Linked DNA regions of Homo sapiens: region 2 is linked to region 1. The links are contacts of gene promoters, found by promoter capture Hi-C in blood cells and fetal thymus (Javierre and others, 2016). All regions are on one chromosome and are shown on one strand. Each heading gives the region's core, a stretch centred on a gene start or on the middle of the fragment in contact. The rest is flanking DNA. Distances are from core to core; before and after follow the strand shown.

Region 1 (4,518 bases), core at 723-3,222:
GGTCTTGAACTCCTGGGCTTAAGCGATCCTTCCACCTCAGTCTCCCAAAGTGCCGGGATTACAAGTGTGAACCACTGCACTTGGCCTAATGAGAGGATAATTATTATAGGAATTGGCTCACACGGTTAAGGGAGGCAAGAAGTCTCATGTCTGCTGTTTGCAAGCTGGAGAACCAGGAAACCTGGTGGTGTAATACAGTCCTAGTCTGGAGGCCTGAGAATTGGAGGACTGATGATATAAGTTTCTGTCTGAATACTAAAGTTTGAGAACCAGGAGCACCCATCTTTGAGAGCAGGAAAAGATGGATGTTTCCGATCGAGCAGAGAGAGTGAATTTGGCCTTTCTCCACACTTGTGTTCTGTTCAGGCCTCAACGAATTGGATGATGTCCACTGACATTGGGAAGGGCCATCTGCTTTACTCAGCTCACCAATTCAAATGATAATCTCTTCCATAAACTCTCTCACAGACACACTCAGAAATAATGTTTTGCCAGCTATTTGGGCATCTCTTGCCCCAGTCAAGTTGACACATAAAATTAACCATCACACATAGTTTACTTGATTGAGGCATAGTCTGAGGGAAATTACAACCAATTAAAGATGGAAGAAACTTTACAAACTCAATACAATGTGAAACACAGAAATACTGAAAAAAGAACACAGAAAACAGTCAATTTCTTTGAATTTTGAGTTTGTTTATTCTTAGTTATTGTGAATATTTCAAATATCAATTTTTGTTGAATTCATTCACTCATTTAACTTAAATTGGCCACCCATTATTTGCTAGGCACCACCCTAGGAAAACACAAAGGTTCCTGGAGCTTTCTGTGTATTAGAAGAGAAAGATATTACATAAATAATCATTTTGTTGTGATTGGGAATAATTGTCAAGAAGATAAACACAGTGTGCTTTTGGAATGTATTAGACAACTTTACCCCCACCAGAATGGCTAAAACTAATAACCCTGACCATATCAAATATTGTGGAGCAACTGGAACTCTCAAGCATTGCTGGTGGGGATTTAATATGATCCAGTCACTTTGGTAAACAATTTGGCAGGTTCTTCTAAAGTTAAACATACAACTTACAAGACCTAGTAATGCCAGTCCTTGGTATTTATTTACCCATGAGAGAAGAAAATATATCCACACAAAAACTTGTGCACTAACCGTTGTAGCAGCTTTATTCATAATTATAAAAAATAGGAAACAACCCAAATATCTACCAACAAGTGAATGGATCGACAAATGGTAGTGATTCCACAGAATGGAAAGCAATAAAAAGGAATGGACTTCTGAGACACCAACAGCGCTGGATGGACCCCAAACGTTATGCTAAAAGAAACCAGACTCCAAAGAAGCACAGACTGTATGAAGTTCAGGAACAGGGAAAACTATGTTACCATGCTAGAAATCAAATTAGAATTGCCTAGGGAAGAGCAGATAATTGGGAAGTGTCCTGGGACTTCCTGGGGTGTTGGAAACGTGCTGTACCCTCACTGGGGTGGCGGTTCCACGGGTGAATACATTTGCCGAAACTCATGAAGTGTACGCTGAAAATCTGTGCGTTTTACTTTAGGCAAACCTAAGTTTTGTTTTGTTTTGTTTTTTTAAGTATTACACAGTGACTGTGGTGGTGGCTGGAAGCAGAAGTCAGGAGTGTATTCTTTTTTTTTTTTTTTTTTAAACCGGCAGTGGGGGCGGGAAAGGGGGATGCCAAGTACTTTCCTAAGTGTTGAATACAAGTGGAGGCAAACTTGGAAACGTTCCACATTTCACAGGGCGAGGGCAGGGTGCCCTGACAGCGGCTAGCAAAGAACGGCCCGCCTCCCAGGGGGCTCGGCCCAACTCGGACCCCAAGTCTCCCTAGAGGTCCTATCGCTCCCAGCGGTTTCCGCAGCCACCTCCACCACCTCCGCAGCAAAACGCTAGCCGGACTGGAGGGCCCTCGCCGGCGTCGTGCTGACGTCACGCGCGTGCTGACGTCGCCCGCGGCCGCGGCCTCTGAAGCGGGCTGGGGATCGGGGGGCGCCGAGTTTGACTAGTTTGGGGGCGGCTGGGCGCTTGGCGTTCCTCCCGCCGCCCGCTGCGCCCCGCAAGCCGCGCCCCTGGCGGGCTAAGTGAGTCCCGCCCGCTCCCGCGGGGACCCGCACTGGAGGCTGGGCGGCTCTCGGCGAAAGTTGGCCGCTCACAGACTGGCAGGCGGGCGGGCGGCCGCAGCCATGGAGCCCCGCAGCATGGAGTACTTCTGCGCCCAGGTGCAGCAGAAGGACGTCGGCGGCCGGCTGCAGGTCGGCCAGGAGCTCCTGCTCTACCTTGGCGCCCCCGGCGCCATCTCGGACCTGGAGGAGGACCTGGGCCGCCTAGGCAAGACAGTCGACGCGCTCACCGGCTGGGTGGGTTCGAGCAACTACCGGGTAAGCGACGGCGGCGAGGCTGGGCTGGTCACGCCCTCCGCGGCAGCCCTTTAATCCCGGACGCGAGCGCCGGGCCGGGAAAGCTCCCGTCCGAACCACTGCTTAAGAGGGGAAACACACTTTGGGAAGCACAGGCGGGCGGATCACGAGGTCAGGAGTTCGAGACCAGCCTGACCAACATGGTGCAACCCCGTCTCTACTAAAAATACAAAAATTAGCCGGGCGTGGTGGCGGGCGCCTGTAATCCCAGCTACCCAGGAGGCTGAGGCAGGAGAATCGCTTGAATCTAGCAGGCAGAGGTTGCAGTGAGCCGAGATCGAGCCACTGCACTCCAGCCTGGGCGACAGAGTGAGACTCTGTCTCAAAAAAAGTAAAAAATAAATAAAAATAGGGGAAACAGGGGGGTCCCGCGTCCCCACTGGGCAGACCGCCTCTTCGTACGCGAGCCGAGGACTGACTTGTGACCACATTTTTCTACACTTGTGGACAATGACAAATTCAGCGATTCCGTGACACGTTGCGGAGTTACTAGGACACAATGTTGATCACTTATTTTGAAAAAAAAATCAGTGAAAGACTTCGACATTTGTGTTCACCTGTGTAAACACTACCCAGACCAACAGATAGGACATTAGGATACGATTTTAGGTTGATGTGTCTTAGTAGATAGGCTAATGCTGGGGGGGAAAAAGTTACAAAGATGAGGTGCGAGAAAGAATGAGCCTTTCTGAAGAGTTGGTGGTAGGCAGGGTGTAATGTAGCCGCGTTGGGAGGCCAGGTAAATATTTTGTATTTAACTTGCCCCGTAGTCGTTAGTAGTTACTTTTCTTTCTTGTCTTCTGGTGGCAGTGTTGCTTTAAAATGCTGACTGCAGCTTCCCATGGATGAAGTGATTCTTCTTAGTAACATATTCTCATGATCCAGCGAATAGGCTGTACTTTGAAACCTTTTATTCAAAAAGAGAAGAAAGACAAACTCTAGAATTATGACGCAGATTTAATGGTAAAGCCCAGATGAGTTTTGGAAAGGTTAGACTTTTTACAAGGACAATAAAGTTTGAGAGTTACCCACGTCGATGCTTCATTACATACCATCTCTTGATTATTATTTTTAAAACGTTTGGGGAAAAGGTAATTTAATAATATATCATTACCATTTGGGAGATTATTTCTTTGGAAGAAACAAGCTAAATTTACTCTGTAAGAAAGGCATATACATATTCACACTCAAGATAGTTGATTTTATGCTACAGCATAGACTGTTGTAGAAAGACAGCGCTTTGGTAATGTTTGCACCCCTTCCGAAGTTAAGATTGGTGTGCCATCTTCTACACGGGCTGTTGTGAATTGGCTTTGGGCCATTTCACTCCTCAGATGTACCTCAGTGAATGACAGTTGAGCAATCACGCTGATATTCTGTGATACCACAGTATGCTAGTTTTCTGTTATGCCTCTAAGCCCTACTTCTACTCGGTGCTGTGTTTTTAACTGTTCTTTAAGAGTTAGAATCCATCAGGGGTCTCATCCGGGTTCTTTTCTGTTTTCACTACGTATTTTCTCCATGCTCCTCACTAGATAATGTAGCCCAAGACAATTTCAGCAGTCAGAAGAGAACTGCCATAGTCTCCCACCACCTGTCTATACACTTCCTTGTAGCTGTGACCATATAATCTTCCTTTTTCCTTGTTAGAATAGATAAATTGCCTGTTTTCCTCATTTATGCAATTCCCTCCACGAAAGTATTAGATTCCATGCCTTCTTGCTTACTCAAGGACATTGATCCATCAATTCTGCTCTCTTTCCTAAATCACTAGTTCTTCCCTTTCTGTTGAATTCTATAGCATAGAAACTTTTCTGACATTGCTAGGGAAAGGGCATTCTAATTAATCTGTTGCTTTAAGTTTTATAAGCTAAGTTACCCAACTGGGTAATCTTTTTTTTTTTTTTTTTTTTTTTTTTTTACTTAAGATACAATAAAACATACTTAACTGTTTTAAAAAGTGTGTCATAGGAGCTTTTGAACATACAAATAGAATCATACTTCAATTTCAGTTTATACTGAACAAAATACAGTTTTTCTTTGAATTGGTAGTACTTCAGA
Region 2 (4,518 bases), core at 989-3,488, 58 kb after region 1:
CTGGTATTGATTTGATTTTTGTGGTTCCTCTCCTTTTTGTAAAGTTGATAAATTATGTTTAGCTTTGTTGGGTAGCATTTACCTACACTTGAGACTTTAAATATTAATTAGCCATATATGTAAAGAATATATTCTATTTCCAAAGATAATATAGGTTGCTTTTCCACCTAGTAAAGTAGTTTCATATTAAAGAGAGTGTGGTTAGTTTAGTAATATAAATGATGTTGGAGTAAAAATTTGGTGTGTGAATTTACAGTCAAATAATTGGAAAACTAGTTACTAATATAATTTAGTTACTGTTCTTTGGGTTAAACCAAGACTGAGGATGTGTTGCGGGAAGTCAGATGGAGTAAGTGAGTGTTAGAAAGATTGTGTTTACCCACATCTAAACTTAGTTCCAGAAGCATAAATTGACTTCAGTGCTACCAGTCCTCACCTTGAATGCCAGAAGATTCTCACTTCACTTCTCTGAATAGAAAGTGTTTTAAGTATCTTCTCCTTATTTTTCTAGCAGTTACCTCTGTCAATTTCTGTAGAAACCAGAAACAGTAGGAAGAGATTTGACAAGATGCTTGAACTTGTGTGTTTTCATAACATGATCGTTTGTGTATTTCAGACTAAGTTAGTTACAACTCTAAGGAAAAAAGTAGAATACCTATAAAATCTAAGGTATTCATTGCTTGGGTATGGTTTATTTCGAAAGCACTGTTATTCTTGTATTTTGTGACATTATTTCTGTTACCTTCAAAATAGAGCTTTTTTGTTTCTTTAGTTCCCATTACTTTTTCTCTTGTTTATCACTCCATAAACAGGGAGGTTCGGAGTTAGTCTCTGGCATTTATTTTTTTTGAAGAAGACTTCAAAGATTGTTTGCATTGATGATTACAGTCTGAATATTGCAAGTATGGTCAAATGTGAAAGTTAAAGTCATATTGGTCATAATGTTTTTGATGATAATATGCTGTCACTGAAAAATTCCTTAATGAATTAATTAACAAGAGGATGCTAGAAGAAGGAAACCTATTTATCACGTTGGAAAATCCCAGGGCCCAGGCCTCCTCTTCCCTGTTTTTATTCTCTCTTTCTTAGTGATCCAACCCCACTCAAAGGCTTTAAATGATAACTCTTTGCTAATGATTCCCAGTATGTAGGTCTAGCCATCATTCATCTCTCCTTTGGGTTAGGTCTAGACTTGTTAGCCTGTGGCCTTGATGACGTTCCCATTTGGCTGCCTAATAGGCATTTCAAGCTTCCTATGTCCAAAAATGAAACCCTGTTATCTTTTCTTGCCTCTCAGATCTGTTCCTTCTCCAGTCTTAGCCATTTTAGTCAGTGGCACCATCATCAGCTCAAGCTAGAAACCTGACTTGATTTCCTATTCTAACTGATCAAACATTTCTACTTCTGAAATACTAACATATCCCAAATTTGCTTATTTTTTCCATCTCCACTGCTAATATCCTCTCTAAATCTCCTTTAGCTTTTGCCTGGACTACTTCTGTAGACTTCTGTTCCATGTTTGCCCCCAGGAATCCATTTGCTACTCAGAAATCATAGGGATCTTCTTAAAATGTAAATTAGATCATGTCACAACAGGAAGAAGATAATGAAATTTCTCCCCTTAAGGAGCCTATAATCTAGTGATGGAGATAGATCATAAACAAGTAAATAAATGGATATACAATGTGGTTACAGTTGGTAATGGAGGAAATATAACTACTCCTTGTTTAATGAGTTTAAATTATTCCTAAATACCCTGCTGCCAAGTGAAAGACCATTAGATGAAAAAATTATTTTCACCAGTGTTAATGAGAAAAATTACGGTGTGTTTCATCCCAGCCCATGATACTTGAGTAGTTTTCCCAGGTAGAAAAATATATCAATTGAATACTGAAAACAAATTTTTATAAGTAACAATTTGAAGGGAAATTGTACATGAAGTAATATCATGGAGTTTAATTCAACTTCTTCTTTATTTCTGCACAATTTTTCCCCACAAAATTTTCAGGCCTTTGTTGATTCATTTTTATTGCACACTAAAACTAAAACTAAAACTGTAAATAAAGTGATAGAAACAGGAAAACATTTTAGGACAGAGTAAAGGCTCGGCATGAAATCTTGTGGAAATAGTTCATGCACACAAAGAGCTGTTGAAGATACTACCTTTTCTCTCCCTCACTTGGTGCATTTATGCAAAATAAATTGTTTTGGGTCTGTCCAAAAATGGCACGCAATTCAAATTTGTTCCACCTGATATTCTGTGACCAGAAACTATTATGGTAAACAAAATTTTTTGGTGTGTCTTTGCCTGAAACCATAATAATGACACATCATACATCTTACAGCATATTGATTTAGAGTGTTTCGTGATGAAAAAAATCATTTTACTAAATACAAGAAACCAAAGGATTTGTTGTAAAGGTGATATAACTTTTTTATAGCTAAAAGTTGTCATCTGAACAGTCATTAAGTGAGTTATAGAGTATTTGATGGTTTTTTGAACTCAACTTGTTATATTGTAAAAGTAAGTTAGGCAGAGTCCCTAAATGCAGTAGAATTAGCTCTGCTGTTAGAAGAAAACTGGATTTAAAATCTGTCAGATCGTGACTAGAAGGAGGGAACACCAGCCCTGTAGGAAAGAAAAGACTGAAAGTTGGAGACCCCCTGCGATTATGGCAGGCGCTGGTGTCGTTATGGAGCTTTCTAGACAGTCTCCTGCACAAACCAAGGATGTAAACACTAACAGTGTTGGTGGCTGTAATTGCAAATCCTTTTCTCTTTCACTGTGAAAAAAACTATGCATAATTCTTATTTGTCGAGTGTGTGTTTAGGACCTAATGCAGTCTTGGCCATGCAATCATTAGTAAAGTATTTTCTGGCTTCTCTGTTTGAAACAGTTGCTAGGAAAAGAATTGTTCTTGGAGGCTGGCAATAAAATAAAACCTGGAAATGAGGCTTTGAAATTACCTTAATATTTGGCTTCTATGAGTCAATAAGATAACTTCCAGTCTAGTTTTGTATATTTTTATAACATACCCTTTGGTGAAAAGCAAAGCAGCTCTTTTCTTTGGTTGATTTTTAAAATGTATCTGTTTGTGATCATGAGCTCCAGGGCCTGCCTTCAGAGCTTGACAATGTGCTGATGGTTGTCAGCTTGGATAGAGGGTGCTCTGCGCCCCTGCAGCTGCGCATTGGCTAGGTTCTGTCTCCACCAGAAGTAAGCTTTGTTCCGTGTGGCCCTGCTGTCCGCGCACAGAGCAGCCTTTGATGGGCTGCCTTTGACGTGATTTGTTTACGGCAGCCAGAAATGCTTCCTGCATAATGAGAGCAGTTAATCATGGAAACTGGGCTATTCCTGTTTATGCACTTCTAGCAATCTTCTGTTGTAAATATTAAAAGGTAACGACAAAAGGATGAAAACCTTTTTAAAAAGGCGCAAATCAGTTAATCCATCAGATCATGTGATTGCTACTGATTACATGGATATCTTTAGGGAAGCAGAAAATGATTGCTGAACACATGCCTTGTGTTTTGATGATTGCATTAAAAGTCCCCCAGCGGGATGGCATTTATTGGCTCTCAGAGCTTTTCTTAGATTAAATTTCAGGCAGCCAGTACAAGGAGAAACATCATAACCTGTATCCAACAGCATATGTGCAGCTAAAGAGTAATCTTAATCAAGTCCTTCTAGGCTGTGCTAAATAAACGAGGGTTTTCAGCAAGACCCCAGACTTTTATTTTGAAGTGGAGTAGCAGCTGTTGGCTATTGCGGTGCAGAGCTGCAGCGAGGCCTGGGTCACACAGTGCTCCGGGTGTCTGCAGGCTGCAGGCCGAGCCCAGTGGCGCAGGCACTGAGCTGTACTTATTTGCTGTGCTATTTGACCTCTTGGTTTCAGAGAGCTCCCTGGACCATCTAATGGCTATGGGAGATGGTGAGTAAGATTTATTTTTCTTCTTTTGCTTGTGTTATACACTTCCTTTTAAGGTGACGATCATTTGCTGTGTAAGAAATATATTTCTCCCTAAAGAATGAAGGACACTTGTGTGTTTATGCATGTGTGTACACTTGTGTGTACATTTATGCATGTGTGTGCATGTCATTTGACATCTTTTTTCACTTGATGTGTCTGTGTGGGATCTGGCAAGCATGAGGTGACAATTTACCTTGCAACCCAAGCAAGCTTCAGTCTTGGTGGTAGATATGAAGGGATATTGGAAGAAACGTGGAATATGTGCAGAAGCTTAGAGGAAGAACATTGCCTTTGGAGGAATGACAGATTTTAGCAGGAAGATTTGACTAGCTAGCTTGATATCCTTCCTGTTGTATTTGACACAAGTAGAATTCTGTGGAAATAAAATATTTAAAGAAGCAAAATGGCTTGCCATGGGCATTATTTTAATTCATATGATTGTTAATTGTCAGTGTCCCAACATTTTTCTAGAAAATATTTAGCCTTTTAAGATTATGCACAGGGTATAATTTGATTAAAAATTGATTTTGCCAGTGTTTTAGTTTGG

Evidence for each region. Contacts are between HindIII fragments. The CHiCAGO score rates a contact against its expected background, and 5 or more counts as called.
Region 2: a fragment that was not itself captured here is called in contact with the fragment with the promoter of CLASP2 in region 1 in 3 of 17 cell types (monocytes, M2 macrophages and naive CD8 T cells); the score reaches 5.8 in monocytes.

Annotation. Positions count from the first base shown.
Region 1 is chr3:33,715,708-33,720,225 of GRCh38, reverse strand. CLASP2 (cytoplasmic linker associated protein 2) reads left to right here and starts at 1,972. Exons shown (of 39, transcript NM_001365631.1): 1 at 1,972-2,418. The coding sequence starts at 2,224. RefSeq lists an enhancer at 1,611-1,700 and a silencer at 1,901-2,240. The HindIII fragment of the contact is 12,344 bases long and covers 1-4,518 here.
Region 2 is chr3:33,658,388-33,662,905 of GRCh38, reverse strand. All of the region lies in intron 7 of CLASP2 (cytoplasmic linker associated protein 2), which reads left to right. Among named protein-coding and RNA genes, the nearest start is that of CLASP2, 58 kb to the left of the region's middle. RefSeq lists an enhancer at 3,490-3,539. The HindIII fragment of the contact is 1,973 bases long and covers 1,252-3,224 here.